Linked DNA regions of Homo sapiens: regions 1, 2 and 4 are each linked to region 3. The links are contacts of gene promoters, found by promoter capture Hi-C in blood cells and fetal thymus (Javierre and others, 2016). All regions are on one chromosome and are shown on one strand. Each heading gives the region's core, a stretch centred on a gene start or on the middle of the fragment in contact. The rest is flanking DNA. Distances are from core to core; before and after follow the strand shown.

Region 1 (3,276 bases), core at 529-3,028, 110 kb before region 3:
GGAGAGAGGAGACAGTAAGCAGGTGTCACAGGACAACTTTCTATTTAGATGCTGAGCAGAAAGTGCGATTGTGGAGGGCAGGTGTTCCCATCACAGCAATTCCCCATGGGGATCCTAACTGCAGAAGCGGGTGACTGGAACATGGGTTTGCCACTCACAGGCCATGTTCTCATTTTGGGGGTCAAGTGGTTCTTTTAACAACCCTGTGAGGTCGCTGCTGCTGTTTCCACCTTACAGTTGAGCAAACGGAGCCTCCAAGAGGTGAGGTTCATGGCTCCCTGTCTGCAGCGCACACAGAGCAGGATCAGGATCCAAACCCAGGTCTGTCTGACCCCAAAGTTTGAGCTCTTTTCACTATTGAGGGCAGAGGGGCATGGTGCAGGCTGGGCTGGCCTCACCACATCCTCTTACCCACGGTTACAGAGTGCCTGAAAGGGTATGGTGCTTGTTATCACCAAGCAGGTCAGCACAGCAATATCCGTCTTGTTTTGACTAATCTTTGTGACTTATCTTTCTGTATCTTTGTGAAGAATTGAGAGGGAACCACTGGTCAAAAACAATGACAAACCACAGAACTGCTGTGATGGAAGCGGAGCTGGAGGGCGAGGCTTGCTGTTCAGCATCAGCGCGGTGGCGACCCTGAGTGTCAGGGGGCTGCCAGGACTCCAGGGTTCACTGTGGCCAAGGAAGGGACGAAGCTTGGGGAGCCAGGAGGGGCAGATCACAAGGGGATGAGGACTTGGTCTGGCAGTCACTGGGGGTCCAGAGTGGTGTGTGAGTGGGGGATGGCCCAGCAGGTTCCCCTGTGCTCAGGGCAAGAGGCTAAAGGCAGGGTCAAGAGGCACATGGGGCAGATGTCATGGACAGGAGAGAGCTGAGGAGGCAGAACTGGCTGCCCTTGGTCACAGCAGGTGGATAACTAAAAATGACCTGTCCAAGCTGTGAATCCTCCAAATTCCTGAATTTGATCTTCAGTTTCTATTTCAAAAGGGGTCTGAGAGCCCTGCCCACAGCACCAGGACTGGGAGGGGGCATCAGAGAATCTGGCAGGGAACCTTTCCTCCCCCATCTGAGTGCCAGGGAGGGCACATCTTACTCCTTTGCGTCTTTGTCTGTCTGTATCACTGGAATGTAAGCTCCAGGAATCAGGGATTGTCATCAGTTTTGTTCACTGCTCAGGGCTTGGAAGAGTGCCTGGTACATAGTAGGGGCTTAATAAAAGTGTGAGGGCTGAATGAGTGCGTGAGTGATCCTGATGGAATGAAGCAGAGAAACTCCAATGTCTTGCTCAAGGTTTGCAGCTCTAAGCGCTGCAGCGAGGGTTTGGGAGCAGAAAAGTAGGTTATTTTCTCCTCCAGCAATGAGCTCCCCATAGACAGATGCCCCTCTCCCAGAACCAGTCCAGCCCCACCCTAGGCTGCTGCTGGGGGCTCTACTAGACCCCCTCACCCCCCTGCCCAGCCACAGCACCCCCTCTGGGAATGGGGCAGCCCCTTCCACCTGGGACCAGTTGGCCTCCTTCACCCCTACTCACTTTTGGACTCAGTTCAAATGCCCTTGCCTTCAGGAGGCCTTCCCTGGCTCCCCACCTAAATCAGGATCCCTGCTGATTCTCTCTCCTGACACCCTGTTATTTTTTCCATTGAACTTGTCACAGCTGTTAGTCGTACCTTCGGCTGAGTGTGTACATGGCTCTGGTTGTGTGCTCCATTTATGAAAGAGGGAACCGTGGCTGGTGCTTTGCTCTGAGCCGTTTCCCCAGTGCCCAGCCCGAGGTCTGGCACCTGTCAGGCACTCAGCACATGTTGAGGAATGAGCCAGGTGGGCTGGGAGCTCTAGGCCCCAGACTGGCAGCCTCCATGATCCCCTAAGTGGGACCTCCCTCCTACATCCTCCACCTCGAAGCATTTGAGGCACGCCATGGTCGGGCCCCTGCTTTCTCCAAGCCTCTGCTTGTCCTGCTCCCCACTGGCCCCCGACACACAGAACATTCCTGCCTCCTCATCTTTGCCTGTGCACTTCCTTCTGCCAGTGATGCCTCACCCATCCCCAAGCACCTAGGCACTGGCTGAAGTCAACTGGTGTCTGGGACCTATTTGAGCTCGACCAGCCACTTCATCTCTCTGGGCCTCCTCAATTAAGGATCTCCAAATGGGGCAGAGATGGAATCAGATCTGCATCCAGTAAGTTCCCACTGGCTGCCCCCATGGGGATGAACTGGAGCAGGAGACACAGAAGCAGGGAGACCAGGTCAGAGGCTTCTGCAGCTGCACAGGCTATGGCGGAGAGGCCTAAGCTGGGATGGGGCAGTGGAGGCGGGACAGACTCAAGGCAGGAAGCCTGGTGGTGGGTTCCGGGTGGGCTCAGCATGGCTCAGGGATCCCAGGCAGGTGGTGGGACCTCCGCATGACGGGGAAACATAAGAAGGAGGGGAGGGTGACCCACCCCCTCCCCTGAACGCTGAACATTCTCCATTCTGAATTGGCACATGTGCTAATTAAAACCATCTTTCCAAAGAATTTATTATAGGCTATTCTGAGCTAATTATAAATTCTCTGAAGCTGATCCTGAGCAGTTTGCTAATGCAGTGTTGAAATCTCTTTGGCCACCCTCATTTAAATTATTCATCAGGCCCTGCAACAGTTGTGAACTGTAATTTAAACAGTCAGCTCATGAATATTCAGTTAACACAACAAACACTGCCGTGTTTTACTGCCTCGCCGCTCAATATTTTGTATCCTCACCCGTGTTTACATGTTTTTATGAACTCTCGAGAAAAGTGTTGCCTGTGTTGAAGTGGCTGGTTAAGCCGAGACTGAAATGCCCAAGGTGGGGAGGAGGCGGCAGGAAAAGCTTCCCAGATCCTTTCCCAGGAGAGTTGTGGGTGCTCAGGGATGGGGCTCAGTGGCCTCACCCCACAGAAGAAGGAAGGAGGCCCAGAGAGGGTCAGAACCAGCCCTGAGGTCACACAGTGGACCTGAGGCACAGAAGGACTTGGAGTTCTGGGGTGGTTCCTACCGCCTAATTTACCACAATTTAATTGATGAAGGGGGTGTGGGGAGGTCTGGCCTGAGACAGTGTCAGGGAGGCAGAAGAAGCCACACATTTCCTGCTCTCCAGCACCCCCTTTTTAGGTTTATTACGGTTTATTTTATTTTTGAGGTAAAACAAATTCCTAGGGTTTTTTTAATCCATAATTTAAGAGGAATGCCCACTATTAATATCAAGGAGTAATTTTTAGTTCAAAATATGCTGTTTATCTTCTTTTTCCCCCTC
Region 2 (3,489 bases), core at 501-3,000, 77 kb before region 3:
AAGGAGCTGGGACTACAGGCGTGTGCCACCATGTCCTACTATTTTTTATTTTTTTGTAGAGACCGGGTCTTGCTATATTGCCCAGACTGGTCTCAAACTCCTGGCCTCAAGCAATCCTCCCTGCTTTCCATTCCGAAGTGCTGGGATTACACGCGTGAGCTACTGTGCCCAGCCTCAAATTACATTTTTATAGCTACATATCCAACTGCCTCTTTGATACTTTACTTCCCTTGGATGTCCTACACAAAAGCCCAGCAAACTTTTTCTGCAGATAATATGTATTTTTGGCTTTGTGAGTCATATGGTCTCTGTCAGAACTATTCAACTCTATTGCTATAGCATGAAAGTAGCCACAGGCAATATTTAAACTTAGGAGGATCCCATGTTCCAGTAAAGCTTTATTTACACAAAACAGGTGGAGGGTCAGATTTGGTCCAAGGGCCATGATTTCTTTGACACGTCCAGAACTGAGCTTGTGGTCATCCTTGTACCCACCAAGTCCATTTCCCCCTCAGTATTCCTCTACCGGTGGCTCAAGCTGGGTACCTGGGAGAGATGTTCAATTCCTCCCTCTCTCATCCCCATCTCCAATCAATCACAAAGTCCTGTCAGCCCCACCTCCCCATGTATCTCAAATCTTCCCACCACAATCCATCTGCAGAGCAACCATCCTAGTCCAAGCGGTCATCACCTCCCACAAGGACTGCTGTAATCACCTCCTCAATGATCTCCTAACTTCTAATCTCTTTCCTTCCAAATTGTTCTCCATAGCAGCCAGGGTAGAGGTTCCACACACAAAACTGATGGTGATACTCCCATTAGCTGATGTCCTCTACGCTCAGGATACAGTGTGTGTGAAACCCTCTCTGTAGCCTGCAAAGTCCTGCATGATCCGGCCCAGTCTCCTTCCAGTCTCACCTCCTATGACACCCCCTCATCGCTATGGCCAGCCTGGATGGTGTCTGACATGCCACGTGCCTTCCTCATTCAGCGGGGACTCGAACATCACTCCCAGGTTCCCATCTCGAGCCACTGGTGGAGGAATACTGAGGGGAAAACATGCTTGGTGGGTATAAGGAGGACCACGAGCTCAGTTTTGGACATGTCAACATTCCTAAATCAGTTCGGATCAGCAAATCACAGGCCGTGGACCAAATCTGGCCCTCCACCATTTTTTCTTTTTTTTTTTTTTTTTGTAAACCCTACACGAATGTGTTTCATGTTCTAAAACCAGCATTACCTCTGCCATTTTTCTATTGTTTTATTCTATGTGTTTGCATGTTACATGCTACAAATATTACTCCCAATTTGTCACTTGATCTTATTTATAACTTTTGCCATATCAAGGGCTTTACATTTATGTTAAAACATTAAATGTATTAATGTATGATTTCTGGCTTTCACATCATGCTTAGAAAATGGCTTCTCCATGCTGGTATTACTAAGACATTCAACCACGACATTTTTTCAGATATGGGCCTGGCTCGATCTGAAGGCTATGATCCTTCCTTACGCCACATGAGTTTCCCACAGTGGCCTCAAAATGGGAGCTCCTTTGGCTCCAAGACATTGCGAGATGCTGAGACTTCCCTTTAAATCACTGCAAGGGATGCCACACCCCATGCACGTGCCCTGCCCTCATGTCAATGCTGGGAGGCCTTACAAGGGAGGTAGGGGTATCCTGGCTCCTACACGATCGCTCCTACACGATCACTCCTGATGCTGTCCTGGGTCACTTACCTCTGCCCATGCCACACGTGGTTGGGAGCTGCTCTTGACCATCCCAGCCGTCGATCAGATAAGTCTCCCAGTTCTTCCACCTCACTGCCTCCACTCCAGCCACGTTCCTCAAACATGCCAGGCACACTCCCACTGCGGGGCCTTGGTGCTGGCTGTTCCCTCTACTGCAATGTCCTTTCCCAGATCTCAACTCCCTCGCCCCTTCAAGTCGTTGCTCAAATGTCACTTTCTCAGCAGCGCCTTCCCTGGCCACCCTGTTTGCAAGTGCAGCTCCTGCTGGCACACCCAGCTCCCCTACCTGCTCAGTTTCCCCACAGAACTTTTACCTGCAAACATACAGTATACTTTACTTCTTTAAAATAATGATTATGGCTGGCTGCAGTGGCTCACGTCTGTAATCCTAGCACTTTGGGAGGCCAGACCACCTGAGGTCAGGAGTTCAAGACCAGCGTTGCCAACATGGTGAAACCCCATCTGTACTAAAAATACAAAAATGATCCGGGCATAGTGGTGTATGCCTGTAATCCCAGCTACTCAGGAGGCTGAAGCAGCAGAATTGCTTGAACCTGGGAGGTGGAGGTTGCAGTGAGCTGAGATTGTACCACTGCACTCCAGCCTGGATGACAGAGCAAGACTCCAACTCAAAATAATAATAATAATAATAATAATAATAATAATAATAATAATAATGATTATTGCCTGTCCCCTTCACTAGGATATAAATTCCACCATTTGGTCACTGATATATTCCAAGGGCCAAGGATAGTACCTTGCACATAGTAGGCCCTCAATAAACATTTACTGAATAAAAGGATGCATGAACGAGTAAGGACTAGGAGTGTTTGACTGCTTTGTTCACAGTTTCGTCTCAGCACCTACACCACTGCCTGACGCACAGTAGGTGCTTAGTAAATATGTTTTGGAGTGAATGAATGAATGAACATCCTAATGGTCTGCTATGGCATTGGGCTCAGTGCTGCACCATCTTTCCTGCAAGCTCTAAGAAGTCAGCAAAGGTCTGAAGCAGCCCGCTCAGTGACGCTGTTCAGCATGAAATCATTCTAACTTGGCCCATCGGGGTCTCCTGGTTCCTTGTCCTTATCTTAGCATCTTCTCATGAAGATCTGAGCCCCTACCTCTGACAGGCTGTGTGACCTTGGACAAATCACTGACCCCTTTCTGGGCCTCAGTTACACCAACTGTAAAAAGAGGCAATTGGATCAAGGGATTTTAAAAATCAAATTCAATTCATGCCTGTGCTCCTTGTATGCAGGTACCCAGGCACACACAAGGCAGTGCTGATTTTAAAAGCAGCAAAAATGATGAGTAGGCTCTCTAGTTGTTTCTGTCTTAAAATAAGCTTCTGGAAAAATGATGTCTATTTGCAGCTTTTTTTTTCTTTCCCATTTCTACCTTCTGAAAATGACAGAAGTAGCATTGCCTAAAAATGTGCCACACGCCAGCTGCCTGTGGATGAAGGCACTTAAGTTCTCTGAGAATGGTCCTCATGAGTGCCCCGAGATCCCAGGACACCAGGCTGAGCAGTGAAGTCCCCTAGAGCACACTGCTCCATGGACACTGCCCTGCTCAGACCCTTCAGAACAGGGTCCCGGCCTCTGCTTGGCATCCAAGGCCTCCTGGACCAAGTCCTGCAACCTTGCCTGATACTAGCCACAGTGAACTCACTGTAGCCCCCAAACACTGCATTCTGTGGTATCACCTAGGTGTGCTGGCCCCTCTGCTCATGCC
Region 3 (3,531 bases), core at 428-2,927:
CTTTGCAGGTCACTGGACAAAAGAGAACCACCGCCACTCTTCGCGAGACCTCACTTGTCGCCCACCACCGCCCCACATCGCGCAGGCCCTAGTGGCCTGGATGCTTGCTGCCCCTGGCGAACTGCAGGGAGGCTTTGCCAGAAGCCGCTCCCCTGGGGCCTGAGGGCGCACTCAGGGAGGCCCAGCCCGGGAGGCCCCGGGATCCGCGCCGGGACGCCTCTCTCCTGCCTCATCCCCACTACCAGGGGCCTGACGAAAAGCCTGCGAGGTTGGGGAGAGACCCTGGGGGGCGCCGATCCAGCCACTGGACGCGCACTCACCCCGCATCGCCACGGAGCCCACGCGTCTGCGCCAGGGCTGCGGGAAACCCACGCGCGCTGTTCAATCCGGGCTCCGAGTGACGAAAACCCGCGCTTGGCTCCAGCCGGCCCGGGACCGACGCACCGACTGGCGGACGCGCGGACAGTCTGGCTTCCTAACTAAGTTTGAAAGTTCCCTCTCCGGCGACCGAAGGGGACGCGGACTGCTTAGAGGCACCCAACCCATCCAGGCTGGGCCAGACCCGGCAGTGGGACCTGACGCCTCGGGTTCGGGGTTCCAGGCACGCAAGCCTCCATCACTGGGAATGCGCCCGGCGCAGCGCAGCTGGGACCTGGCTGGGGTGGGGGGATAGATCCTGGAAACATGGAGGAGGGAGGGTGTCCGGCACTACAGCCCCAGCCTGGAGGGACGCCGGCTCACCGCTCCCGGGAGGACACAGGCCTCGATTGGCCGCAGCCTACTCGGAATCCGAGGCCCCGCCAGGCAGTGACGGCCAATTAGTAAACTGCCCAATTAGTGTGCTGCGGCGCTGAGAAGTTAAACCTCGACGCGCGAGTGTGGATGACCGAGGTGTGGCCGTCCCTGGGTGTGACCGCGTGTGACTGTGTGGCCGTCAGGACGATCTGTGTCTGAGGCTCACCGTCCAGGGGGGTGGCTGTGTGTGACAGCGTGCGCCTGGGTGAGGCGTTGTGGCTGCGAGAGTGTGACTGTCGGGCGACTTCTTTGTGTGACTGTCCCCCGTTGTGCCTGGGTGTGACAGCGGGTGGGGGCATGTCACGGTGTGTGGGGCATCGGAGCGTCTGTGGGTGACTCGTCTGTGGCGGTGAGGCTGTTTGCGGGTGAGTGGTTGCGTGTCGTTGTGTATAAGTGACTGTCAGGGTGACTTGCGTGGGACGGCGGGACCGTGTAAGCAGTGCCTGGCCGCCTGCGTGTGGCTGTGGGTCACTGTGACGGCTTGTGAATGACTGCGAGGCTGTCAGGGGGACGCGAGTGAGGGGCCACTGTGTCGTCGCACGGGTGGCTGTCGGGATGACTTCTGCCCGCGATCCCAACAACTCAGGGCGTGAGCGTGGCCGCGAGGGGATCGATGTGAGCCGCCCGTGCCCGTCGGCGGGGCTGATGTGCGCGGCCCCGTGTGACCCCGGGAGCGCCTGAGTCCCGAGCTGCCAGGTGACTCCGGCCCCGCCCGCCGGGGACCCCCGCCCGCCCCCGCCTACCTTGCCGCCGTGGTAATAGTCCAGGTGCGCCAGGCCGGCCGGCTCGGCCCCGGGCCGCGCGCCCACCGCGGGCGCCGAGGGGTACAGGCGGACGTCCATGGCGGGCGCGGCGGCGGCGGCGGCGGCTCCCGCGGGCAGTGCCTGGGCGGGCGGCGGGTGGGAGCCAGTGTGCGAGCGGGACTGCGAGCGCGGGGGGCGGGCCGGGGGCGGTGCCCAGAGGAGCGCCCCGCCCCCGCCCCCGCCCCGCCCGCGCGCGCTATTGTTCCGGCCTCGGGCGCTGCCTAGGGCCGGGGGCCCGGGGGCCCGGGCCGGGGCGTGGAGGTCCTTCCTCCGGGCTGGGCCGCCGCCGGGTCCCCCGCCCGGCCCTGCATCCCTGAGGGGGGCGCGCCTGTCCAGACGGCGCTTTTCCGTCCCGCCTTTCGCCACCCACGGTGAGGAGAGAAGCCCGAACGGCACCCCTCCCCAGAAGTGGGACACTCCCTTGCCCTAAATATTTGAGGCGGCGCTAGTCCCCGCCCCGCGGCGTGGGTGCGGGGGGAAGAGGAAGGTGGTGACAGGACCACTTTGGAGATGGGTGCTGCCTTACCTGGGGGGACGCAGGCCAGCGCCGGAGGATGCTCTTAGCATGCCCGCCCCCTCCTCGTCTCACTGATCTGAGTCAGCTTGACAGCCCCCCCTGGAGATTGCCGCGCTTAAACTCTCACTCACATATGGGGAAACTGAGTCAAAAACTTGCAGCATCAGTAATGGAGCTCCAGGCGGGTGGGCTCCGTTGCCCCCAAAGGATCCAGAGCTGAAACCACTTGGAGAAGGCAGCAGGACCCCACCCCTTTTAATGATAGGGAGGGGAGGGCCGCAGGAATGCCTAGAGCCCGAAGCTCTGAAGAGGGGTCTAGGATCTGCCCACAGTCACGGTCTCTTGGAGTGAGGAAAGGAAGAAAATGAGATTGGAATGGGATGGCTCTGATGGTGGGTCAGAAAGGTGACTGTGAAATGGGGTTCCTCCCCAACCAAAAAAAAAAAAAAAACCCTCTAGTTCTTGATATCACTTGCTGGTTGCTAGACTGTTGCACCCCCATCCCCCTTTTCATGCAAGAATTGTCTACACTAGCAATCTCCCCTAGCAATCTCACTGCTCACTGACTGCTCCAGGTATGTCTGACTGGGAGAGGCCAGGAGGCGAAGTCAGCCAGAATGGCATTCTTGTGTGGCACCAGGATATAGGATGCCATTGGGAGAAAAGGACTTGAGCTTCCTGCCCACTCAGGAGCTAGCTTAGAACTTAGTTCTCAACTGCTGCTTGGGCTTTGCTGGTCCTGGCCTAGAACTAGGACCATAAGAAAGATGCATTAACAAAAGATAGGTGTGGGAAACAGGCATTCACTGAAGGCTTGGGAACAACAGAGGGAAATTATAGCTCAGAAAGGAAAGAACTTCCAAATAAATTTCAGCAGTCATTGTTTCTAGAAATACAATGCCACACCTCATCAGAAAAAAATTTCCATTGTCCTGTGTCCATTTTTTTCATCTGGATATCCAACTGACCAGCACTCTTTATTGAAAAGATCACCACCACCACCACCACCCCCCTACACACACACACATACTCTTCTGCAATGCTAACATTGTCGTAAATCAAGTAGTCGATATGTGCATAAGACTGTTCCTGAATTCTCTATTCTGTTCTGTTAGCCTATTTTTCTCTCCCTGTGCCATTATCACAATGTCTGGATTACTGTGGGCTTATAAGTCTAAATGTCCCATGAAATAAGCCTACCCATTTTGTTCTTTTAAGACTGCATTGGCTATTCTTGATGTTTACACTTTCACAGAAATTTTGGAATCAGCATACCTATTTATATATATACACACAAACACACTAACACAATCTTGCTGGGATTTCAATTGGTATCACTTTGAACCTTTAGATCAATTGGAATAAAATTAACATTTTCAATAGTAAAACTTCTTATCCATGAACATGGTATGTCCC
Region 4 (3,302 bases), core at 316-2,815, 120 kb after region 3:
TCCAGTCAACACAGGATGAAAGTTTTACTTGAGCTTCTAAAGCAAGAGCTTTAAAACCCCTTTAACCCACAAAGTCACCTGGGATTCTTTTATCTTCTTCTCCTTTGTAGGCAGCCACGTGACTGGCTATGGAGCACTGACTGAGATGCTGAGGCAGGAGGCTCAACTGTGATTTCAAATCAACCAACACTTGCTGCAGCCCTCTGTGTGCCAGGCACCAGACAAGGCCCTGTGACTGAGCAAGATGGAATAGGCTCAGCCTGTTTCCACAACAATCTTGCAGCCTGACAGCAGAGACAACTTGGGGCATGCACAGAAGAGTGAGAAACACTGACGATGCAGATAAGCTGGAAGGTTCTAGGTATACGTCCTTAGAGATCTTGGATTGGGGGTCTCCAAGGCTTGAAGGCCACCCAAGATCCCCTTCCACCCAACCAGACCTAACTACAGAAAGTTTCAGATCCAGCCAAGTGTATTTCATTTTTCCCAAAACGCTACTCCCCAGCAAGAGGGTCTCAGACTGTCCAGACCTGGAGCTTTGGGCCATTCATTCCCTCTTAGACAGCACCCAACCCTGCTCCACCCCCATGAAGCTCTTGCATCACGAGACACATGATTTGGCATCTGCCCCAGAGGAGTGATGGGTAAAGGTGAGCCCATGGACAATCACATGTGTACCCTCCCTGGTACACTCTGGAAATGGGAAGAAGAAATGCAGCTGGCTAAAGAGGACTTTCTTTTTCTTTTCTTCCCTAAAGCAAGGGAGCTCAGCAAAGCTTACGGCAGCATATTTGAGTTGTGCTATACCTGCTACCTGGCTTGAATTCCTTCAAGGCCTGGCTGGCTACACTCACCTCTCCCTTCTGACAATGGAACAGAGGCCTTTCCTTGGGGCTGAACTGGGTTGTGAAGGAGAAACAGGCATCACAAGGTGGGCCACATGGACAAAGGCCGAGTAGAGAGAATGCAGGACATTGCGTTCAAAGAACTAAAAGCAGATGGATTTTTATTGTAGCCTTAATTGCAAGGGAGCAAGCCCTGAGAATGTAAACATCAAATGAGGTAATCTAAGCATGTTAGAAAATGTCAAACTATGGATAAATGTGAATTACTACCTATATCACTGAGGTGATGGGGAAACCAAGTGATATGTTATATGCATACTAGCATTACATAAATTATAGTTGTTACAGGATATTTTGGAAGATTAAGCTTCAACCATGGACACTGATTTTAAAATATACCTATCTGTCTATTTCTTTTCATCCTACCTTTTTACAGGTGTTCATAAACTGAGAATTATGATCAATTTCTTCTCTGTTCTCTTTTCCAAATGAACACACTCTACCCAACTTTAACCTTTACTTTTAGATATTCTTAGTTTCCTGTCAATTTGACCACCATGCTTCAGGTTTGAAGCATTGTGATCATGTTTTATGGACAGACCATTCTTCTGGCTATGAGTATGAGGGTAAGAGAGTTGGTATTTATATCCCTTTTTATGTCTTCAGTTATCACCTGCTATGGTTTGACTGTGTCTCCCAAAAAGCATGTGTTGGAAACAGAATCCTCAATGCAACAGTGTCAGGAGGTGGGGCCTGTTAGGAGGCGGGGCCTCATGGGAGGTGTTTAGTCATGAAGGCTTCACCTCCATGAATGAATTTAAGGGTTTGAGGCTGTGAGTTTGACCATTTGCTCCCTCTCTCGCCCTCTCTTTGCCCTCCCACCATAAGATGACATAGCAAGAAGGCCCTTGTCAGATGCCGGCCCCTTGATCTTGGATTTCCTGGCCTCCAGAATCATGAGCCAATAAACTTCTGCTCAATATAAATTACCCAGTCTGTGGCATTGTGTTACAGCAGCAAGAACTAAGACACCACCTTATTCAAATGTATTATCACACCACATCTAAGCTTCTGTCATAATTTGAGCTGTATACACTGCCTCGAAGCTTTGTCTCAAAATCATCTTCCTCTTAGCTGGTCAAATATCAATATTATGTTTACCATTAAAACTAACTGTAGTGCTTGCTTTGGCAGCACATATACTAAAATTAGAACAATACAGAGAAGATTAGCACGGCCCCTACACAATGATGACATGCAAATTCATGAAGCATTCCATATTTTTTAAGAAAAAATTATATACATTAAAAAAGCTAACTTCAAAAGGACCTCTACTATAGCCAATGTGATAAAACAAGAAAAATAATAAGGGGTAAAATGGTTGGAAAGGAAGAAATACATTTATCATTATTAGCAGGCAATATAATTACATATGAGAACACCAAAAAAATCACAGAAAAGCTATTCAAACTAACAAGAGAGGCCAGTAAAATGGTCTAATACAAAGTATATTTGCAGCTGGACTCAATGGTTCATGCCTATAATCCCAACACTTCGGAAGGCTGAATTAGGAGGATTGCTTGAATGCAGGAGTTTGAGACCAGCTTGGGCAACATACCGAGACCCGTCTCTACAGAAAAAAAAATAATAATTTTTTTAAATCAACCAGATATGGTGGTGCATGCCTATAGTCCAGGCTAATAGAGAGGCTGAGGTTTAAGGATCACTTAAGCCCAGGAGGTTGAGGCTGCAGTGAGCCATGTTCCCACCACTGCACTCCGGCCTCAGCAACAGAGTGAGATCATCTCAGAAAAAAAAGTATCTATTTGCGTGAAGCAACAGTTTTTCTATATATAACAATAGCCAATTAGAAATAAAACAGAAAAATCTGGTTCATGATATACATCTAGCTACCTTACTGACATCTCCATAAGAATGTATCACAGAAATTTCAGCACAAAAGTGAATTTTGGATCTTCCACTCCAATATTTTCCTCCCCCAGTGCTCCCTAATTCCATGAAGCGCTCTTTCATCTACTTACTTGCACAAGACAGAACCCTAGGATTCTTTCCCTTTCCCCTCTCCCAAACTCCCATCCCCAAATCTGTCATCAAAGCCTGACAACATACTCTACGTCCATCCACTCATCCCTCCAACCCAACTGCCTCTACGTTAGTTCAAGCCTCCATTATCTCTCACCAGGACAACTGTAGTAGCCCTCACTCTTCTCCTCTTTTGTGTTCTTGCCCTCCCCAATATGTCTCTATGAAGCAGGCATAAGGACCCTTTAAGATTTTAAGCTAAATTACACTATTTCCCAGCTGATACCCTTCAGAAGCCGATACACCCCATATCCTCAGCATCACCTGCATGCCTTGGCTTCCCATGGTCCTGAGGACCCTTCTAGCTTTGGCTCAAGCCAATCTCCTCCTCACTACCTGTGCTGCAGCCATGCC

The links. Contacts are between HindIII fragments. The CHiCAGO score rates a contact against its expected background, and 5 or more counts as called.
Region 1: a contact is called between a fragment that was not itself captured here and the fragment with the promoter of TOX2 in region 3, in 1 of 17 cell types (total CD8 T cells). The highest score is 6.4, in total CD8 T cells.
Region 2: a contact is called between a fragment that was not itself captured here and the fragment with the promoter of TOX2 in region 3, in 6 of 17 cell types (monocytes, naive CD8 T cells, total CD8 T cells and 3 more). The highest score is 7.1, in monocytes.
Region 4: a contact is called between a fragment that was not itself captured here and the fragment with the promoter of TOX2 in region 3, in 1 of 17 cell types (naive CD8 T cells). The highest score is 5.7, in naive CD8 T cells.

The regions. Positions count from the first base shown.
Region 1 is chr20:44,026,478-44,029,753 of GRCh38, reverse strand. All of the region lies in intron 3 of TOX2 (TOX high mobility group box family member 2), which reads right to left. Among named protein-coding and RNA genes, the nearest start is that of TOX2, 110 kb to the right of the region's middle. The HindIII fragment of the contact is 2,155 bases long and covers 701-2,855 here.
Region 2 is chr20:43,990,556-43,994,044 of GRCh38, reverse strand. All of the region lies in intron 2 of TOX2 (TOX high mobility group box family member 2), which reads right to left. Among named protein-coding and RNA genes, the nearest start is that of TOX2, 77 kb to the right of the region's middle. The HindIII fragment of the contact is 2,704 bases long and covers 399-3,102 here.
Region 3 is chr20:43,912,998-43,916,528 of GRCh38, reverse strand. TOX2 (TOX high mobility group box family member 2) reads right to left here and starts at 1,677. Exons shown (of 9, transcript NM_001098797.2): 1 at 1,539-1,677. The coding sequence starts at 1,637. RefSeq lists silencers at 197-246, 1,437-1,526, 1,577-1,686, 1,707-1,806, 1,907-2,026 and 1 more and enhancers at 505-1,222, 1,223-1,940. The HindIII fragment of the contact is 9,025 bases long and covers 1-3,531 here.
Region 4 is chr20:43,795,265-43,798,566 of GRCh38, reverse strand. The region is part of intron 1 of LOC101927200 (a long non-coding RNA gene); the gene reads right to left. It also overlaps the pseudogene RNU6-639P. Among named protein-coding and RNA genes, the nearest start is that of GTSF1L, 70 kb to the right of the region's middle. The HindIII fragment of the contact is 701 bases long and covers 1,215-1,915 here.